Regions from separate parts of the Homo sapiens genome. Here region 1 is linked to region 2. The links are contacts of gene promoters, found by promoter capture Hi-C in blood cells and fetal thymus (Javierre and others, 2016). All regions are on one chromosome and are shown on one strand. The core of a region is centred on a gene start or on the middle of the fragment in contact, and the rest is flanking DNA. Distances in the headings are between cores, read along the strand shown. Region 1 has its middle 100 kb from the start of LINC02849. Region 2 holds the start of CA1 (carbonic anhydrase 1).

Evidence for each region. Contacts are between HindIII fragments. The CHiCAGO score rates a contact against its expected background, and 5 or more counts as called.
Region 1: a fragment that was not itself captured here is called in contact with the fragment with the promoter of CA1 in region 2 in 6 of 17 cell types (erythroblasts, naive B cells, total B cells and 3 more); the score reaches 13.9 in erythroblasts.

The regions. Positions count from the first base shown.
Region 1 is chr8:85,955,059-85,958,469 of GRCh38, forward strand. No RefSeq gene overlaps it. Among named protein-coding and RNA genes, the nearest start is that of LINC02849, 100 kb to the left of the region's middle. The HindIII fragment of the contact is 1,656 bases long and covers 1,019-2,674 here.
Region 2 is chr8:85,376,818-85,380,493 of GRCh38, forward strand. It overlaps CA1 (carbonic anhydrase 1), which reads right to left and starts at 1,296. Exons shown (of 8, transcript NM_001128831.4): 1 at 1,229-1,296. RefSeq lists a promoter at 1,324-2,115. The HindIII fragment of the contact is 5,896 bases long and covers 1,089-3,676 here.

The DNA of each region.
Region 1 (3,411 bases), core at 597-3,096, 580 kb after region 2:
CATGGAATACTATGCAGCCATTAAAAAAGAGTAAAATCATGCCCTTTGAAGTAACATGGGTGCAGCTGGAGGCATTTATCCTAAGTGAATTAATGCATGAACAGAAAGCCAAATACCACACATCCTCACTTTTAAATGGGAGTTAAACACTGAGTACACATGGAGATAAAGATGGGAACAATAGACATTTAGTACTACTAGAGTGGAGAAGGAGGGAGGGGGGCATGGACTGAAAAATTACCTATCAGTACTATGCTTACTCCCTGGCTGACAGGATCATGAGGTTTGTACCCCAAACCTCAGTATCATGCAATATACCCATGTAACAAGCCCGCACTTGTAGTCCCTGAATCTAAAATAAAAGTTGAAATTATTTTAAAACAATTTTTATTTAACTTTTTAATCCAGCTGGAGTTCACTTTTGTACATAGTGTAATTTAAATAATTTACCTTTTTTCCTCAAATGAAAAATTAGTTGGCACAAAATTATTTACTGAGTAGTTTGTACTTTTCACTCTGATATGAGATACTGCCTTTATCATTACTAAATTTCAAAGTATACATTACTCTGTTTCTGAACTCTCTATTGGGTTCACCCTATTGTTCTATTTTTTAAGGAATGTAAGGCAGTTTTGATTATTATAACTTAAGTACATGCTTCAATATATGAAAGATCAAATTCCCTCTTATGTTAAAAAATAATTTTTTGATTATTCTTTCATGTTTTATTTTCCAGATGAATTTTGCAGTTAGCCTATAACATTCTATAATTTTCTTGTTGGAACTTGTATTTAAACTACTTTGAATTTATAAATGTCACTTTTTTGTACAATATATAATTCTCTAACTAGATGTTAAAAGCAATGTAGATATAATTTCCATCAAGAAAAAAGTTTCTTTGCAATATCGAAAACTAGAAAGTGAATCTTAGATTTAATGTAAAAAGTAATGAAGAATCTTAAATGGAAGAATGAGATGAAAGATTTGGGTTTAGAAAGATTTTGCTAATTGTTTCAGAAGCTTCCTTAAAGCAAGGTTTCAGTTAGTATTAGGGTTATGATAGGAATAGTCTTACATAAGGGTAAACAGTTAGATTGTGGCAGCAATCTGGCATGAAAGGAAAAGAAGCCAGCTAGGGTAGGGTCAAAGTGTTTGGAGGGGAAAGATGAATGTGAAATATTTCCAAGAAAGAAATAAACTATAATCATACCCTTGTTTGCTAAATGAGTCTCTGGAGCATTACAGTAAAGCATTTTGGTTTCCTTGTCCTTGAGTCTCCATTTGGGACAGAAAGCCTTCAAGACTAGCAATGATGATTCCTATTTTTTACTTCATTTGCATATCTGTGCTATGCCTGCTTTGTGTTTAGAAACATTGCAGGATTATAGTCCCATATTTTCTGTCTTTCACCTTGAGCTGTTGCCTGAGGTTTTCACATATGGTCAATCTTTTGGCTGGCTTTAATACATTTAGACAATAGCCTGCTTCATTTAAAAAACAAAACCATACAGTATAGTTCCTGTCATTGTTTTAAAGTCATAAGAGTATCAAAACTAAATCTGTTACACAAAATATTTAAAAAATAAATTTATTGTGTATATTTGGGGTTTACAACATGATGTTATGAGATACATATAGATAGTAAAATGATTACTTATAGCAAAGCAAATTAATATATCTAGCAACTCATACAGTTACTTTTTATTGTGACAAGAACACAGTAAGAGCTAAAATCTTATTTAACAAAGATTCCTAATAAAATAGAATTTTAGTTACTACAGTCTTCATGTTGTACATTAGATCTCTAACTCATTCATTCTTCATAGCCCCATTTCCTCTTCCATTCCCCTGGCTCCCCACTGCCTCTGGTAACCACTGTTTTATTTTCTTTCTCTGTATATTTGACATTTTTAAACATATCACATATAAGTGAGATAATGCAGTATTTGTCTTTCTTTGTCTGGCTTATTTCACTTAGCATAATGTCCTTCAGTTTCATCCATATTGTGGCAAGTGGCAGGATCTCCTTTTTTAAGGCTGAGTAATAATATTCCATTGTATATTTATACCAGTTTCTTTATCCATTCATCTGTCAACAGGCACTTAGGTTGTTTTCATATCTTGGCTATTGTGAATAATGCTGCAATGAACATTGAAGGACGTAGATACCTTTACAAGGTGATGATCTCATCCCCTTTGGGTATATACCCAGAAAAGAGATTTCTGGGTCATATTGTAGTTCTATTTTTAATTTCTTTAGAAACCCCCACACTGTTTTTCATAATGACTACTTTCCGACCAACAGTGTACTAGGGTTTCCATTTCTCCACATCCTCACCAGTATTTGTTATCTCTTGTCTTTTTCATAATGCCCATCCTAACAGATGTGAGGTGATATCTCATAGTAGTTTTAATTTGCATTTCCCTTATTGTTAATGATGTTTAGCACCTTTTTATATATTGTTTGGCCATTTTTGTGTCTTCTTTGGATCAATATTTGCATAGGTTTTTAGCTCATTTTTTAGTAGGTTTATTTGTTTTTCTGCTATTGGGTTGTGAGAGTTCTTTATAAATGTTGGATATTAATCCCTTATCAGATATGTGGTTTGAAAATATTTTTCCCAGTCTATAGGTTACCTTTTCATTTTGTTGATTTCTTTCTCTGCTGTGTTTAAGCTTTTTAGTTTGATATAATCCCACTTATTTATTTTTCCTTCTGTAGCTAGTGCTTTTGGTGTGATATTCAAAAAATCATTGTCAAGGGTAACATCAAGGAACTTCTCCTCCATGTTCTCTTCTAGGAGTTTTATGCTTTCAGGTCTTGCATTTAGGCCTTTTATCCATTTTGAGTTGATTTTTATGTATGGTGCAAGATAGAGGTCTGACTTCATTCTTTTGCCTGTGGAAATCCAGCTTTCCCAGCATAATTTACTGAAGAGACTACCTTTTATCCATTGTGTCTTCTTGGTGCCCTTGTCAAAAATTAGTTGACCACAAGTTTGGATTTATTTCTGGACTCAATTTTGTTCCATTAGCCTGCATTTCCTTTTTTGTGCCCATACCATACTGTTTTGATTACTATCACTTTGTAATATAATTTTAAGTCAGTCAGTATGATGCCTTCAACTGTGCTTTCCTTTGGCAATATTACTTGGGCTATTTGGGGATTTTTGTGGTTCCATACACATTTTTTTTTGTGGTTCCATACAAATGGATTGTTTTCTCTATTTCTGTGAAGAATGTCATTGGAATTTTCTTAGGAATTGTGTTGAATCTGAATATTGCTTTGGATGGTATGAACATTTTAATGATATTGATTCTCCCAAAGCATGAACACAGGATATTTTTCCATTTATTTGTGTACTCTTCAATTTCTTTCATCAATGTTTTATCATTTTTAGTGTGTAGGTC
Region 2 (3,676 bases), core at 46-2,545:
AGGCACCCTGGGCATGTGTGGTACCTAATTAGGTCCCTGACCCTCTCTCAAATTCTTTAACTGACACTTCAACCCTGGCCTTGATTCTCTGATACAGTATCCTCAGCCCAATCAGATCATACATCTATCTATTCTCTTTATTTGCATAAGTGGATTTACAATACTGGGAGAAGAGAGAAATAACTATAAGAATGTTGAAGTTAGTCAAATCCACAATATTAACACATTTGTATTAACTTTAGAAATTTAATTATTTAATCCTTGAGATAACCTATGAAAGATTGTTTGTTAAGTTACTTGAAGCATTTAATATAACCTGATATATTAGAAAATCAGATATATGAACCATATAATTTCAATTTTAAAGTACAAGAGCATTTTCTTCAGTCTATACACAGTGTTTGAATGTTTAAGAGAACATAACTTACTACTGCATAAATTTGGTTTATTACTTTTACTGGAATTGCTTTAATTATTAGAGCCCCCTCCCTCCTTTTATAAACTTGCAAGATGTATAAAAGATACTAATGTGTCAGGCATTTGAAATGCTTGAGAGATTCAGGTAGACTAAATTTGTAATTGATATAATATATAATATTTAAAGGAACTTAATTAACCAAGTCTATCAATTGCATTATTTGTTTAGGGGAATTAACGTCAAATTGAACATTAGTCATGGAATAATTTTAAATGGTAATTTATATTGGCTGGGCACAGTGGCTCACGCCTCTAGTCCCAGCACTTTGGGAGGCTGAGGAGGGCAGATCACCTGAGGTCAGTAGTTCGAGACCAGCCTTGCAAACATGGTGAAATCCCCTCTACTAAAAATACAGTAATTAGCCAGGTGTGGTGGCATGTGCCTGTAATCCCAGCTACTCGGGAGGCTGAGGCAGGAGAATCACTTGAACCTGGGAGGCAGAGGTTGCAGTTAGCAGAGATGGTGCCACTGCACTCCAGCCTAGGCTGCCAAGTGAGACTCTGTCTCAAAAAAAAAAAAGGTAATTTATATTATCCTTTTCAGATTTACAGATTTACAGAGATCTGCTTGATAAATATAAAAGGTTTAGAAAAACTATAAAGGTTTTTTAAGCTTTGCAGCTTTCATTCATTGAATAGTAATTAAGATGTAGGTAGGACTGTATTTTACAAGATTTAAAGATTCTTTTGGCAGTCGGATAAAACACTTCAATGCTCAGCTAGATGAAAGGCAGAAGTCTTTGTTACTTACAGCTCTGAATGAGAGAAGGCTGCCACAGAGGACCACGCAGGGGGTTGCACCTGAGGACTGGGTACCACAGGCTGGAGGGGGAATGGGCAGCTTATGTACAGCAAAAAGGGTGGGGTTAGCTAGGTTGAATAATTTTGAATAATTTGCATAATTTTGGCGGGCTTTGGGGCATGGGCGCTGTCCTTAATTGTCTGATGTCTGGCCCTGTGGTGATTAGAGTGGGTACATAGTGGCCCCAGAGTGTGAGAACCTGATAAGGGAAGTGGTTGGGGTGTGGATTTAATCAGCTGCTCAAGAGAGGAAACTGACCAGCCTCTAGCCAAGGCCTCCATACTAGGTCAAGACAGCACAATAATCAATAAAAATACCATATATGAAATATATTTAGTCACTGATTCCTTTATATCTTGATGTCGATTTTGAACTCAATTATTTGGGGTGTTTGAGTGGCCTGAATAGTAGAGGAGACTTCTACAGAATAGGGCCTAAGTTGCACTAAACAGCATAGAAAACATTTTATTATGACAATAACAAGGAAGAAACCAAGTAGAAATGTGACAAGTCCCTGAAGGCTGACTCGTAACCAGGCTCCCATTTGTTTGGCGTTGGCCAGGAGAATACATCAGTCATGGCAAGGGCCTTTAGTCATATTTTGACTGGATTTCAGAGTGTGTTAAATATGTAAGGCATGTTTTTTTAGGGTGATGGTTTTCTGATCCAGGCTTTCTGTTAGAATGACCTCTTGATTGGTGGTGTTAACCCACCTACAACAAGAAGCTCTAATAATGTTACAAACACCTCTTTGACTAGTTAATATATAATCAAGGACAAATTTACTGTCAAAAAACATTTTTGCCAAAGCTCCCTGGTTTAGCAGGACTAATATTTGCTGTAACTTAGAAATATGATATACTAGAGTTTTGGACATTTGTAGGGTAGCATCAATTATTTTTGACTGTTGGGCTAAAGCAATGGTCCTTGTGGCCATCGCAGCAAGTCCCAGAGCAGTGGTGAGTCCCAGTATTATAGGTACAAATGTGGCACATCAATGACATTTGGCTGGGTAGGGAAAGAATAATTAACATTTATATAAATAGGAATGCCAAGAGAGGCCAGAATGCATCTCGTGGCTTCCAGTTTCAGAGTAATGGAAGGGCAAAGGAGAGGGGATAAACACCCTTGTTGGTTGGGACACAATATAGTTTTGTGGCATTACCATTAGACTGGAAAATTGTACCTTGATTTAGGTAAAGGGAAATTACTAAAGAATGGGACTGGAGGAAGACAGTGGCTTTTGTTGGGCATATGGTGAGAATATGCAGTTGTTCATTGGGTAGCCCATCTGTGGTATGTATTGAGGAAATACGAGTGCAGTTGCCACTTGCCATGAGGGGGCACCCCAATACAGAAGAAAAGGCCGTTTGGAAGTGGTTTTCATTTCTCAGTATTTTTCATCTCTGGGGCAATTATCAGTTGGGTAAATGTGTGATGTGGGATATGTGGAAGCAGGGTGATGAGTTATGGATAGTCAGTGCAGAAGAGCCTACTTCAGTCAAATGTGTTTGTATTTTGGATGTCTGTATAAATATCAGAGAAGCTGGGGCAGTGGGTTTGAATTTTACTTACGTAGTCTTTTAGAGGGCAAGAGGAGAAGATGCTGTTAGGACGGAAAAGATAGGGGTGGGAGTAGGGATACTGACAATGAGAAAGGGAAGGCGAGGAGGATGGAAGGGAATAAATGGTTTGACAGTCGGAGACCAGCAGATGCTCCTTTTACTCCTAGGAGAGCACACAGGGTGGAATACTTCAGTCAGGTTACCCTTTAGGCAGGAGAAGTGGGTGGGATTAGCAGGAACCTGAATCTTAGAAGCATTAGGGAGGTATTGGACTTGGTCTCATAAGGGCTAAGCCAGGTATAGAGTGGAATTACAATCACAGAGAGCAGAACTTCGAGTTTTATAGGTGTCTGTAAAGTCTGGAAAGTTACTCCAGTGTTGTGGGTCTTGCTTTTTTAAAACAGAAGTCAGCAGTGTAACCAGCTACTGGAAAACCAAGAGCCTCTGGTCTCCTATGAATGGCAAGACATTCCATGTGCTAGTGTAGTTGGCACTGCCCATAGTTGGTTGGGAGGCAGGGGGCATGTCATCTTTAATGGCATGGTCTTGAGCTAGGGCAGTGTCGGACTAGGGTATCCTTCCCACATGGATACCCACTAGGGTTGATGTGGGCTGTATTTTTGTGACTCTGTGGTGTTATAATGGGGCTGAGTCATTTGTAGAATTTGAATACAATGTTGGGTCCTGGGAGCTTGATTCACAAATGTCTTTTAAGTCAAAGGCTTTGTGGGTGCACAGCTAGCAAAGATGCTGGCATCCAGAATACTCCTATAATTGGACCAAAGTGCCAGAATCTGAATGGTACAATCAAAGTCTCAATTAAAGGCAGCTA